Linked DNA regions of Homo sapiens: region 1 is linked to region 2. Evidence: promoter capture Hi-C in 16 types of primary human blood cells and fetal thymus (Javierre and others, 2016). All regions are on one chromosome and are shown on one strand. Each heading gives the region's core, a stretch centred on a gene start or on the middle of the fragment in contact. The rest is flanking DNA. Distances are from core to core; before and after follow the strand shown. Region 1 overlaps DIP2C (disco interacting protein 2 homolog C). Region 2 holds the start of GTPBP4 (GTP binding protein 4).

Region 1 (7,828 bases), core at 1,513-4,012, 480 kb before region 2:
GGTCGAGGTTGCACTGAGCTATGATTCCACCACTATACTCCAGCATGGGTGATAGTGACCCTGTCTCAAAAACATTCAAATTCCCACATCATAGTTTTTACAACACCAATATACCATGCAACCATCTCCCTGATAAGCCCAATCATTTACTGGTCAATGCACAGAATGTGAAGATATTATGAGGCACACACAGGAACTAAACCTACATGAATTTTTATCTTTTGCTAAAATGAGATTTGGGTGAACTAAATAAAACCACCATGAGTGTTCAAAGGAAAATACTTTTCAAGTGAACTGAAACAAAAATTAAAATCTATGAAATGCAGCCAAAATAATGATGGGAAGTAAGCTCATAGGACGAAAGGCTCATATTCGAAAAAAGTAAGGTCTCAGGTCCATAATCTAAGCTTCTATGTTAAACTCAAAGCCAGAAAAAGACATCATAATGAGCACAAATCAAAGAAACTGAAAACAGAAAGGAGGAAACTCAAGTCACACCAAAAGCCTACGTATAAAAATTCCCAAGGGATCTACAAAAGTCAGTCCTAGATCCAATACCTGAGTTCAGCCAAGTCACAGCACACAGTCAAAGTGTACTCTACGTATTGGCAATTAGTATTTGGGACCTAAATGTTAAAAACAACACTATTTACAGTAGCTGTATAAAAAACACTTAGGTATACATTTAACAAAGCACACAGAGGATGTGTATGAAGAAAACCACAAAACACTGAAGAAAGAAAGGAAAGAGCTACCTCAACTGAGCCACGAGTCCAAGGAGAAGCGGCAACACAGTCAAGACACCAATTCTCTCCACGTTGACCAACAGACTTACCACAACTCCAACATAAATCCCGCCAGGACACTGACCTGCGGACTTACCACAATTCCAGCATAAATCCTGGCAGGACACCGACCTGCAGACTTATTACAATTCCAGCATAAATTCCGCCAGAACACTAACCTGCGGACTTACCACAATTCCAACATAAATTCCGCCAAGACGCCTACCTGCAGACTTACCACGATTCCAACATAAATCCCGCCAGGACACTGACCTGCGGACTTACCACAATTCCAACATAAATTCCGCCAGGATGCCTACCTGCAGACTTACCACGATTCCAACATAAATCCCGCCAGGACACCGACCTGCGGACTTATCATGATTCCAACATAAATCCTGCCAGGACTTTCTGTAGATGCAGACAAGCTAAAAGTTACATGAAAGGGAAAGAAACAGGACAATAAACGTTCCAATTTAAAAACTGGCAAAGATCGAACAGACACTTCAATGAAGTGGATGGACATAATAAGCACTCGGAAACTAAAAGAACTGACCACAAAAGAGAGTGGCAGTGCTACTATACATAAATTTAACAAGCAAAATAAAACTACAAGGGAGAAACAAATGGAACCAAGGGCTACAAAGATGTATCTTAAAGCTGGCGGAAAACCATGGAAGTGTTCCTAGCCTCTTTCTCTGAGAGCACCACCTGACCATCCAGGAGTCGTCACTGACAGACCCAAAACCAGTGGGTGCTAACCACAGCTTCCACCCTGAGAGGGAAGAGTCATTTGAAGAACATCCAGCAATATTCCTTCGGCTCTTACCCCTCTGCTGTGCCAAACACCGAGTTAACGTTTGCTGGCCTCTATATGCACACTGAGGTCTGCATTTGTAACCGCATTTTTACATCTTTCAGGACAGGACAATCCTCCTTTGTCCCCTATGGTTTTCATCACGGTTCTATATACACCTGAAAATCTCTGCCGCCTACATCAGACGTTTTGTCTAAACCCATTACTGTGACTTACCCTAAATTTACAACCATTGATTTCAATTCCAAGTCCAAAGACTCATTTCCACAGTAATTATTTTACTCAGAAATTAAATTCCAGATTCCTGATCACACTTAAAGTCAACTGCTTTCAACTTCTGGGTTATAGATACAACTGGTCTAATTCTGTAACCTGAGAGGATTTCATGGAAATACTCTCTCTTCATCTCACGACACACACAGGTGGTAACTGCAGCCTTCAACCTAACTGCCTTCCTAACCAGAGCATGAAAGAGCAATAAAGAGTATTTATCCCCATCTCCTTGGGCTGGAGACCCACAGCGTATCAATCACTGTCAAATCACTGTTGTGCAAAAATCAGTTCCAACGCCCTGTGGAGAATAAAGGCCACGCTGGAAGAGGCACGCAAGGGAAACAGCCGTCTGCCATGGGGCTCCCACCCCCGAGACGGCAAATCCATGCAGGCGTGCCGAGGCTGGCCACCCGCTGATACCCTGCTACCATGGAACTATTCCAGGCACGAACTACCTGGAAGTCCTGGGAGAGAAACCCAGCACACAATGTTGCCGTCAGACCTGCAGGTGTGATCCCTAGCACAGCCACCTTAGGCCGGGAGAGCGAGGATGGGACTCAGAAGCTGCAAGATGACCATGCAGAGAAGCACCCACGGCTCCGTGACCAAGTCTGACCATGCAGAGAAGCACCCACGGCTCCATGACCAAGTCTGACCATGGAGAGAAGCACCCACGGGCTCCGTGTCCAAGTCACAAGTGACAAGATGAGACGCTTCCCGTGTTCCCATGTTCTGTCACTTTAACACTAAAAATTTAGTACATCTTACTGTTTCCTAAGAAAGCATAAGGCCTGAGTAGCAGGTGGCCGCTAACCTGGTTCTTTTCAGCTTCATAACAGAAGGCAATAGCTATATAAACCAAATCGCACTATGGCTGCATCACGGCTTTCATTGCATGTCAAACCCTCAGCTCCAGCGGTGCTGACCCCGTCATACTCAGAGAAGAGGTGAGCTCTTCAATCTCCATTTCTCAACACTCCAAGCTGTTTCCATATGAGCTCATGTGACTCTCAGTGCTAGGTTCGTTCATTCATTCATTCATTCATTCAGCAAAACCGCCGTGAACCCGCGGGATCCCCACCCTGCCCTCCAAGGGATACTATTCTGATGGGACCTGTGTCCACACCCATATTACTGCAGCCCAGCACCCTTCCCGGAACCGTGTGCATCTCCCCAAAAGAAAACTGTACAGAAAACGGCAACGGGTCCAGTCATGTTCCGAGGAGCAATTCCAATTGCTGATGTTTTAAGGCAACAGACTAATAACCGGCACCTCATCAACACAGAGTCACTAACTTCCCAGCAGTGTCTCTAGTCCCTCTACAAGGATATACAGATATACACGCAGGAGCTATCTTAGGAGGCAACAAGACGCTCTTCAGGAAACAGGAGAAAGCAAAACATTTGAGGAACGGACAGGGGCATCTCCACCTTCTACTGCCACAATTTGTGTGTTAGTGATCAAGCCAAGGTTCTCAACCTTTCCAATCTATTAACCCCCTGCCTGAGGCTCTCGACTGATCCCCAGCTGTACTTCCTGGCAATAAACAACCTGCCCAGCTGTGATTCCTGTGTGCACCTGACACCAGGGAGATGGAGCTGCCTGCCCAGCGGTGCTTCCTGTGGGTGCCCCTGACCCCACAGGAGATGGGGACCACCTGCCCAGCTATATTCCCTCTGTGGGCACCTGACACCAGGGAGATGGAGCCACCTGCCCAGCTGTGCTTCCTGTGGGTGCCCCTGACGCCACAGGAGATGGGGACCACCTGCCCAGCTATATTTCCTCTGGGTGCACCTGACACCAGGGAGACAGAGCTGCCTGCCCAGCTGTGCTTCCTGTGGGTGCCCCTGACACCACAGGAGATGGGGACCACCTGCCCAGCCATATTTCCTCTGGGCGCACCTGACAACAGTAGGATGCTGCATGTGCCTACACTGACAGCTACAGCATCATCTCCTGCTGTAAAAACTCCCTTTCAGAGGTAACAGGACAATGGGGCAGGTTTTCTCCTGGAGAAGTAAAGAAGCTGAGAAATCCAGGGGATTAGGAACGCAGGTGACAAAAGGAGGTTGTGACATCTACACGATGTCACATTTGGCAGCACAAGGGAGTGCTGGTATGTGCTGCTAGGTACTGTTATTCCCAGAACCACCTCACACTGCATGGCATTGACATGCTTCCCATGCTCGTTACCCTTCGGAAGACACATTTAAATAACCTTGACTTGCTGGGATGCAGCTGGAGAGAGATGCCTGGAGACCACCAGCCCAGAGTCAAGGCTCCATTTTCTCCTGCTTGCAGGACTTCTGCATGAAGCTAAGGCATCCAAATGTGCATAAGATTTATGAAGAGCAGACAAGCTGCATGACATCTTCTGAGAGGGAAGCTGTGCCATGTCAGGGGTTGGGACAGCAGCAGCAAGGGGGATCAGCCCAAGGCCTGGGGAGAGGCAGTTGGGAAATCTCAGTGTGTGTAGCCCTGGGGTCTGAGGCTTTCAACTGTCCATGTGGCTCCCACAGCTCAAGTCCAGCGTGTGGTCATGACCCAGGGCAGGGCCACTCACAGAGCACAGTTCATCTCAAATGTGATGGGGACGCTGAATGATACGCCAACGTACCAGAATAGAATCCCCAGTACTCACATGCAGAAGGCACTCCCAGCAACACGCATGCCTACACCACCCTGCACCAAGGGGCTGGGCACTCCTGCAGTCTGCAGCTGCCTCCTATCCCCCAACACACAGTGGCCTCCCGGGACAACATTCTATTTGCCGGCCACAGCCTGGAGCCCCCAAAGCACGGAGGAGGGGCTTAGCGAGCCACGCAACGTTCCCACCTCACACCCAGGAAACGAGCCCCTCACTGAAGTGGGTCCTGCACCCGCCAGCTGTGCATGATCAGAGGTGTGAGGTTATGGACATGGTCACACACTGTGCACAGAGGTGTGAGGTCACAGACCTGGTCACCCACTGTGCATGATCAGAGGTGTGAGGGCATGGACCCGGTCAACCACTGTGCAAGACGAGAGGCGTGTGGTCAAGGACCTGGTCACCCACTGTGCACGATAAGAGGTGTGAGGTCACGGACCCGGTCACCCATTGTGCACGATAAGAGGTGTGAGGTCACAGACCCGGTCACCCGCTGTGCACGATGAGAGGTATGCGAGGTTAGGGACCTGGTCACCCACTGTGCAGTCAGAGCCATGCGACGTTACAGACCTGGTCACCAGCTGTGCCCAATCAGAAGCTTTTGAGGTTAGGGACCTGGTCACCCGCTGTGCACAGAGGCGTGAGGTTACGGACCTGGTCACCCGCTGTGTCCAATCAGAGACGTATGAGGTTACAGACCTAGTCACCAGCTGCACACAATCAGAAGCTTTCAAGGTTAGGGACCTGGTCACCCGCTGTGTCCAACCAGAGCTGTGCGAGGTTACAGACCTAGTCACCAGCTGTGCCCAATCAGAAGCTTTTGAGGTTAGGGACCTGGTCACCCGCTATGCACAGAGGCGTGAGGTTACGGACTTGGTCACTCGCTGTGCACTATCAGAGGTGTGTGAGGTTAGGGACCCGGTCACCCGCTGTGTCCAATCAGAGGCGTGCGAGGTTAGGGACTGTGTGCGCGGTGACGGACCTGGTCATCAGCCAAGATTCCTGATGTTTCCAGTGTCATCTCAGCTTCCTTCAAAACTTGAAATCTTTAGATATTTCCCAAAAGCTCGTCCGTCTTTGAAAACGATACATATGCGCACAGGTGAGTTTGTTCCCGCACATTCCTTTCAGTACTGACGATTGAAGATCGAAGGTTAGAGCATTCCAGCCCAGTGCCCATGTCCCACCCCATCTGTGAAAACCTGAGCACAATCAGAGGCTGCAGACAATCTCTGCATCATCCTCAGAAACTGTTCCTGACCATTCACCTGAGGCCACCAAGTTTAAATGAGGGGCCCAAGTTTTAAAAGACAGGAGAAGACTTTTCCACAATCTTTTTCTGAAGACAGAGTCCATGCGTTGTATCATCAGCACCATTTGTGCCTGTCCTGGTCAGGAAGAGCTGCAACCACGTCTCTGTGCTCTTCCAGTGCAGGGTGCTGCCCTTCCCTCCCTTTCCAAGCACAGAGCAGCTCCTGATGACCCAGCACCTCTGCTCAGCCACCTTCCCCCAACGCCTTCCTCCCTCACGCCACAGAGGAGCTCGTGCAGCCAGGCTTTCTGGCTCACCACCGCGATTCAGTCACTTACACCCTCATTCCAGGCTGAAAATCTCTTCTGAAAATATCCAAATCTTACCCATGTCAGGCTCCATCTTTTCCCCAGAGCCCCTCACCCACTCCAGAGCAGCATCTCCGGTGCCCGTGCAGCCTGGGCGCAGATCCACAGGCTCAGAGTGCCCAGGCCCTCAGCCCCTCCATGTGTGCCCTTACTCCCTTGCTCCCCAGCGTTAATGCCCCCATCCTCGATTTCCTGGTAGGCAAAAGGGGGTTAATTCTAACAGTGCTTACCTAACTGGATAATTTCATACCGCATCCGGCCCAGCATACTGCCTTGATAAATGACAGGTCCTGCTGCACTGTTACCATTGTGCTGGTTCCGGATTTCCTGTGAGCCGCTAAGCTCTTCGCAGCAAAGACCACTCAATGGTCTGGTCCAGGACTCTCTGGGATGGATGGATGGGTGAGTGGCTGATGGACAAGTGTGATGCTGAATGGGATCATGCAAAGCTGGCCCCACGTATTTTGGTCAACGTAAGAAAAAAGCCTCCCATGTTTGCTTGCTGCCACCCTAACCGCAGCGTCCAGAAGAAGCCACTTAAAGGCAACTGTACCGCACATACAGGAGATGGCGAGACGAGACTGGCTGGAGATGGGAAGTTGTGTACTACTGATCAGGGCTGCATGACCCAAAAAAGGCATCACTCGAAAACACGGCTGTTCCAACAGCAGTGCTGGAAGGCGGCCACTCTGACCCGACCGTCCACCTCCAGGGTCAGCCACCTGGCACCTCTTGGATGTCTCATCCTGGGCACCCCTTCACAGAGTAAATGAGCCTTTTAACTTCAGCCTGTCCTCGCTAGAACACTGACTCCCACCTCCCATGTCCTGAACCGGCCTGTTCCAGGGACTGCTGTGGACAGACGAGCAGGCCCAAGATATCTAGTGGCATTTCCTGGCAAGGACACTCACGATGCTTGACCATACAACTAGGGGTCGATTGGTTTTTTAGACTGACTGTAATTCCCTGGTGGCACGCGTGGATACTGATTCACCCGGGGAGGGGCATAGAGGAGACTGAAGGAAAACCCGTCCTAACCGCGCCAGGTATTCCCGCACGCACCGATATCTTCAGACTTCTGCAGCATCCTCCTCCTACAGACAAACTGAAGCTCAGAGACACTAAGGAGCTTGTCCAAGACCAGCAACAAGTATGTGAGCAGCTGGGATTCAACCAGGTCCTTCCCTGGATCCATCCGCGCTGCTCCCCCTCCCACCCCGAGGCAGCTCCAGATGGACACAGCAGGTCGGAACATCCCACACCCCAAAGACAGACTACGGAGCAGAGCCGGCTTCCGCAGCGGAAACTCACACACAGCCCATTCCCATTCTTGCCGAATATCTCAGGGACTCTGTGCGGTAAGGGCTGCAGGTGTGACCTCACTCTGCGCCAGGAGATCCGGGTGGTAGGCAGTGTTTTGGAGGGTGCTCGTCCAGACGAGAGAGAGGCATCTAAGGGGGCTCATAAGCAGATCCATGAGACACAGGACACCTCAGAGAAGGGCCGACAAACCCCACAAAGTCGCTCCCATCCTGGAGAGCAGCTTGGAGAGGACGGGGCGCCGCAGTCTCCTCCCAGCCCACGCTTCGGCATGGAGAGCAGCTTGGAGAGGACAGGGCCGCCGCAGTCTCCTCCCAACCCACGCTTCAGATGGGTCTCGCTGCAGCCTGTGGTGCTCATCAGGC
Region 2 (7,057 bases), core at 2,905-5,404:
AAATTCTGCCTGCAGATATTTAGAATCATTTGGAAATTGATCATACAAGCATAAGTACATGCATTCCAAATACGTGTATGATTATTATCACAAATCTTCTCTAGGAAAAGAGATCGCAAGATTTCCATTAAACCTAAAATTGTTCCTTTATGGAACAGCAGAATGCAAAGAATGTTTTTAACAGTGTGTCAATAGAATGACTCGTACTCAACCCATAGAAACACCCCTTATCAGCAGCTCTGACGTGAGCAAGGGCAGAAGTTCATTAGCACAGGTGCCTGTCATGATCCACGCACAGGAACGGAATTCTCACAGAAGAAACACAACCTGTCTGCATATGCAAACAGTGCTTTAGTGAAACACAGGTGCTGGGGGATTATTGACAGCATATGACCCCAAGTGCAATCCATCATGTACCTCCATTTAAATACCAAACAATTCATGACCAGCCTGGACAACATGGCGAAATCTCCCCTCTACTAAAAAATACAAAAAGTAGCCAGGTGTGGTGGCATGTACCTGTAGTCCCAGCTACTCGGGAGGCTGAGGCACTTAAATCTGAGAATTGCTTAAACCTGGGAGGTGGAGGTTGCAGTGAGCCAAGATCACACCATTGCACTCCAGCCTAGGCGACAGAGTGAGACCCTGTCTCATAAATAAATAAACAAACAAACAAATACCAAACAAGGTAATAACTCTACAGAGGTCAAGAACAAAGCCACTCTCGGCTGGCAGTGCAAAAGGAGAGTGGCTTTGGAGTTCCATGCGCCCTGAACGCACCTCATTGTGTCTCTCCAGCTGTGTGACGGTGAGCAAGCACTCAACCACCTCAAAGCCAGCACTCTTGTCTGTGAAACAGAGACAATCACACCCACCTCACTATGCTGTCCCGAGAAGAAAGCAAGTGACCTGGCACATGGTGGAGGCTCCCTGCATTGCAGTTGTTAAGGTTCAACGATAATTTAATGAATAGAACAAAAGTTTAGCAAATATTATTGTAACTAAGCAGCTAATAAGAACATAGATAATACATAATGCATAATTAATAATACACAATCTCTTTGCTCACTTATTAATGCCTGTAGAATAGGGTTAGTGAAAAGCTAAAATAATTCACATAAAGTATTTTTAACATGCCTGGTAGATAGTAAGTGAGCAAAGAGTGAAGAAACAGAGGCTTGGGGAAGCTGAGACATTTTCCCAGGATCACAGCGGGTGGAGCTGTATCTCAGAAATGAAGCTCACAGTCTTAACTCACTGTGTAATTCTGCAGAGAATGTCAGGCTGCACCTTTGGCCCGGAGGGTGGCTCTCATGCCATTGCTGCCTTCCACCTAAGGAGGTGTTTCCTTAGACCTCCCTGTTGACAGCTTTCCTCTTTATGGCACAGTGTGGAGTTCTGACCCACTTCAGGGTTGTGCAGAGGGGGTCTGACAGTACTGTAATTCAGTAGGACTACTTGAGTATTGCAGAAGCTTGATTCCAACCGCTACAGCCCCTACATCAGGAACTTACTCAAGCCAACATTCAATCAACGGAGTTCCACAGTCACTGTGAATGCTCTTGGCAGTGCTGCCTGAGGTGAGGGATGGCAAAAAAGTAAGACACAGTTCCTGTCCACGAAGAGCTGGCTACTTCTTTTGGAAACAAGATGTACACAAGGAAGCATCTAGGTACAAAGCAGCATGTGACTCGTTCTGAATGAGTTCCTGTGGGGATCCAGGGAAGTGGCCGACGGGCCCAATGGAGCACTCATAGGACCCTCTAAGACCGGATGCCTACTGATGGCTAATCCCCATGTAAAGGCTCCTTTCAGGCAGGAAGTTCAGTTCTGCAAAATGTACCTTTCATCCATCAGAATTACAGCAACGAGAAGGTAAAACAGAAAAGACCAAACCCACAAAATAAAAAGGTCTGAAAAACAAAGCTTTTTACTGAGAAGTGCCTCGCAGTCAGAAGCTTTGCAGAGTACCCTTGAGAGCATCCTTTACTACAGCTGAGAAGTACCTTTCTGTCACAAGGTACACACTCAGAGGCGTCCTGGCAGCTGGAACCTGCTAATGCAGTCAGGAACTGGCAATGTGCCTCGTACTGCAGGCAGCATTTGCGACACTCCTCAGAAAAGGCCTTTAGAGTTTGGCTTCCCCAGAGAAGCCCAGAAGTGTATGATAAAGAAGCTTGCTCCTAGTGGTGTAGAATACATACTTGCCCCCAAGAAGCTATACTCTGCCACAAAATCACAAGAACAGGCAAGGATGTTGATTCTCATCAACACGCACATGGTGTAAGATGCTTGGTACCTTATCATTGTTATAGCTCTGGGCCCATGATGAGTCATTATGGTTGTGCATTCACAGACATGCCTTTGTAGCTGAACAAGTTAAAAGCAGGTGGCTCATGCCTGTAATCTCTGCACTTTGGGAGGCCAAGGTGGGTGGATCACTTGAGGTCAGGGTTTGAGACCAGCCTGGCTAATATGGTAAAACCCTGTCTCTACTAAAAATACAAAATATTAGCCGGGAGTGGTGGCAGGTGCCTGTAATCCCAGCTACTTGGGAGGCTGAGGCAGGAGAATGGCTTGAACCCTGGAGGCGGAGGTTGCAGTGAGCTGAGATGGCGCCACTGCGCTCCAGCCTGCGCGACAGAGTGAGATTCCGTCTCAAAAAAAAAAAAAAAATTAAAGAAAGGATGTTTGCCCATCTGAAGCAAAGTATTGACTGGACTTATCTAAATACCGGATTACAAGAAAAAGAGGAACTGGCTATATCAGAGTGAGAGAAAGTGGGAGAGGTTGAGGAAACATACAAGAACCTAAAAGAAAGGGCAATAAGTATGAGCATAGCTTTGCTAATCTCGGAAATGGTGGCCAGAACTGTCCTGTGGTTTAGCAAATGATCATAGCCAGCAAATCCTAATTACCCTAGAAGCTTCCTTTAGAAGTGCCACAAAGATGTAGGAGGTATGCTTATCCGCCTTGTGACACAAAAATGGAAGCATAGTTAATAGATGAGAAAAGCATGACCCAGAATGATTTTCAATATTGGAATGCTGGGAATTTATGAGAGGTATTTTCGCGTAAGAATAATAGGACTTGTTTAAAAGGATTGGAGAGTGGGGGGCATCCCAGATGCGTGAGAAGCAGTATAGCTAATGGTTAGAAGCAGGTTTGCTGGAGCCAGGCTGCCTGGGTTCAAAGCCCACCTCTGCTGCCTGTTAGCTTGTCAGCTGCACAACCACGGGGTGCTTTCGAGCCTTGTGTGCCTTTGTTTCCCCATGCACTTCATGAGGCTGTTGCAGAAATTAAACGAGTTAATATATAGTCAGCAGCTCTGAACACTGCTTGACTGAGTCAGCCCTACCTAACGTTTAATTTAAGGGATGTGGCCCTGGGTTCCCAAAGGGAGCGGCCACTCTATTCACAAACATAAAAGCAGTAAAGGCTCCATCCTCATCAACCTTCTCCTCAGTTGGACCCCACAGGACTGTCTCTCGCAACTGTTCCCTGGGCTCTCCTAAGGCACTGCGCGGAACCAGCTGCACCTCTTTTGCCTTAGATCAGGCTTTCCCTTCTCCGCCCGTTTTGGGATTTAACAAGCACGAGAAAGCAGGGCTGCAGGGAAGCCGCGAGGGCCTCCTCACCACGGCCCGGGATCAAGTCCCACGCGCGAGGCCGGGGTAGGGGCGTCATCTGCTCCACACCCAGAGGCTGGGCACGCCCCGCACGCGCGGCTTCCTCCTCCTTTGCGGGGCTCGCCGCGACCCAGGACCCCCAGACTCCCGGATCCCCTAGACCCTCTGGACTCCTAAGCCCCGCAACTCCCAAATCCCAAGACCCCGGACCCTCCAACCCTGGCCCAGGGCGCGTGGCTGGGGGCCTGAACCCGCTCCAGAAACCCGCAGGGCAGTCTGTCGGAAACCCCCGCTTTACTCAGCAGGAATTTAGTCTCCGCGCTCCCCCTAAAACCCGGGCGTCCTCTCCTCTGTACCCTCGCTCCTGAGGCCCTCACACGCCCTCCGTGGCTGACCTCCAAGCCGGGCGGGTGCGCTGTGCGACGCGGAAAGCGCCGTAGAGCACGCAGAACACGATTGGCTGAGCTCCCGGAAGTGACGTACCTCAACCGCCCGACAGTGGAAGTCCCACCTGCGCCCGACGGCGGAAGTTCCGGGAGTGCCAAGTACCCGCGTGCATACGGCTGCCGGCATGGCACATTACAACTTCAAGAAAATTACGGTGGTGCCGTCCGCCAAGGTAGGCGGCCCCGGGAGGGCCACTGCAACTTTCGCGTTCTCCTCAGCTGGGTCCCCGGGGAGGGTCCGGGCCTGTAGCCGTGGGAGAGCGGTCGCCTTCCGCTCGCCCATCCCCCGCTCCTGGGCCTGACCGTCTGGCCGCGTACTCGGGATCATTTCCCCTCCCCCAGCAGAATCCGGGGTCCACCAGAGATCGGATCCCCCAGAGACCGGGGTCCACCTAAGACCGTGGTCCACCCAAAGACTGAGGGCCCCCAGAGATGGGGGTACACCCAGAGTTGGGTTCCCTGGAGGGGCCCCGGGTGACGATGTGGGCGAGTGGAGGGGGACCCCGACATGTGAGGGAGGAAGCGTTCCGTGGTCCGTGATGAGCCTTCGGATTCTGGGTTTGGCGTAGCCCCCTCCCCTCTCAGGAATCCTGGGTTCGTTGTTCTCGTGATTTAACGTTTCATAATTTTTAAGTCATTCTCTTTCACTGTTAGATTTGGGAATACCTGTTCCTTTTCAGACCATAGTAGGCCCAGACTAAATTTTTACAGCGTTGGTTGGTGTGGCAAGAATGAGTCAACAAGTGTTGAGTATTAGGACTTTTTTTTTTTTTTTTTTTTTTTGAGACATAGTTTTTCGCTCTTGTTTCCCAGGCTGGAGCGCAGTCTCGGCTCACTGCAACCTCCACCTCCCGCGTTCAAGCGATTCTCCTGCTTCAGCCTCCCGAGTAACAGGGATTACAGTCGTGCACCACCACACCCAGCTAATTTTCGTATTTTTAGTAGAGACGGGGTTTCACCACGTTGGCCAAGCTGGCCTCGAACTCCTGATCCCGGGTGATCCTCCCGCCCCGGCCTCCCAAAGTGCTGGAATTACAGGCGTGAGCCACTGCGCCCGGCCCTAGTATTAGGACTTTTAAGAAGTCACGTTTTTATGTAGTGAACATTCGATTTGGGTCGCAATTACACAGACATTGACGGGCAACTGGAGCCTCCCAGGGACTCCTGCACGAGAGGGAGTTACTGAAGTCCCTGCAGAGTGACTGTTTTCCCCTCGTCAGTGCCTCCTTTTCTTCAGGTCTCAAGGACGGGATGAGCTTGCCTTGGAAAGCTTTGTGGGAGTCTCGTATTTTACCTTCATAGCAAAAGTTGTTTCCCCACTTCTCTCCACCATTTCTTATTTCTTCCTGACAGTTGTTCTGGCACATCTCTTGATCGATTGTAGTATTTTCTTTCTTTCTTTTTGAGATGGAGTCTCGCTCTGTTGGCCAGGTTGGAGCGCAGTGGTGTGATCCTGACTGCAGCCACCGCCTCCCAGGTTCAAGTGATTTTCCTGCCTCAGCCTCCCGAGTAGCTGGGACTACAGGCATGCGCCACCAGGCCTGGCTAATTTTTGTATTTTCAGTAGAAGTGGAGTTTCACCATGTTGGCCAGACTGGTCTTGAACTCCTAATCTCAAGTGATTCACTTGCCTCAGCCTCCCAAAGTGTTAGGATTACAGGCATGAGCTACTGTGCCCAGCCAGATTGTAGTATTTTCGAGTGCAGGAGTCATGTCTTATTTGTATTTTTGGTCAACCATCTCTCAGGTTTGTTGAAGGAATTTGCTCTTTGGATTATATGAACTTTGTTCATGTTATTGACTTATGTGGAGAACTTTAGAATATATTATACACCATCCGTCTTCTGTTCTGTGGAGTGAGATTTATATTTTTAGAGAACAGATGACTTATCTAAAAACTGGGTGATGGTAATTGTTTGGTGATTGGAAGTAAAAAAAAAAAATCACATCGGGAAAGTGTGGTATTCAGTTCATTCTAGAAGATGTTGAGTGAGTGCCTGTCCTGTGCATCGGGTACTGTGTTACAAAAATGCATTAGATAAAATACCTGCCTCTTTGGAAGTCATTTTCAAGAGAGGTAAGTCGAGGCCGGGTGCGGTGGCTCTCGCCTGTAATCCCAGCACTTTGGGAGGCTGAGGCGGGCAAATCACGAGGTCAGGAGATCGAGACCATCCTGGCTAACACGGTGAAACCCCGTCTCTACTAAAAATACAGAAAAATTAGCCAGGCGTGGTGGCGGGCGCCTGTAGTCCCAGCTGCTGGGGAGGCTGAGGCAGGAGAATGGTGTGAACTGAACCCAGGAGGCAGAGCTTGCAGTGAACCGAGATCGCGCCACTGCACTCCAGCCTGGGCAACAGAGCAAGACTCCATCTCAAAAAAAAAAAAAAAAAAAAGTGGGGTAAGTCATATCTCGTATGACCATACTAGAAATAAAACATTGTTATCATGGAGGACACACATGGATTGGGAGAGGAGAAGAGTGTGGTTAGCTGTGGTAAGTTGGAGAGTCAGGGGGAACCTTATGAAGTAGGTAACCTTTGACTTGGTCCCCCTTCAGGATGTGCGAACGGCATTAGGTGCAGAAGAACGTAGAGAAGATCTTGTGTGGGCCCAGAGGGGAGACCGTGTGTGCCCCTCATAGTACTTGGCAGACTGTTGTGACCACCCGTTTACTTGTCTCACTTGTAGGCCCAGAGGGGAGACAGTGTGTGCCCCTTATAGTACTTGGCAGACTGTTGTGACCACCCATTTACTTGTCTCACTTGTAGGCCCAGAGGGGAGACTGGGCGTGCCCCTCATAGTACAATACTTGGCAGACTGTGTTGTGCCCACCTGTTTACTTCTGTCACTGGACCCTGAATTCCGTGAAGGAAGGGACAGTATCTTGTTCATTATCCTCAGCACCCAAGTATCCCTAACAACCTTTGTATGAAATAATATTGAGTTAATCAAATTGTTGAATTAATCAAAGTGTTCAAGAAA

What was found. Contacts are between HindIII fragments. The CHiCAGO score rates a contact against its expected background, and 5 or more counts as called.
Region 1: a contact is called between a fragment that was not itself captured here and the fragment with the promoter of GTPBP4 in region 2, in 1 of 17 cell types (endothelial precursors). The highest score is 6.2, in endothelial precursors.

The regions. Positions count from the first base shown.
Region 1 is chr10:502,075-509,902 of GRCh38, forward strand. The region is part of intron 1 of DIP2C (disco interacting protein 2 homolog C); the gene reads right to left. Among named protein-coding and RNA genes, the nearest start is that of DIP2C-AS2, 120 kb to the right of the region's middle. RefSeq lists an enhancer at 4,883-5,462. The HindIII fragment of the contact is 4,714 bases long and covers 406-5,119 here.
Region 2 is chr10:984,280-991,336 of GRCh38, forward strand. GTPBP4 (GTP binding protein 4) reads left to right here and starts at 4,155. Exons shown (of 17, transcript NM_012341.3): 1 at 4,155-4,248. The coding sequence starts at 4,201. It also overlaps a transcript of LARP4B not described here. RefSeq lists an enhancer at 5,902-6,797. The HindIII fragment of the contact is 2,419 bases long and covers 2,925-5,343 here.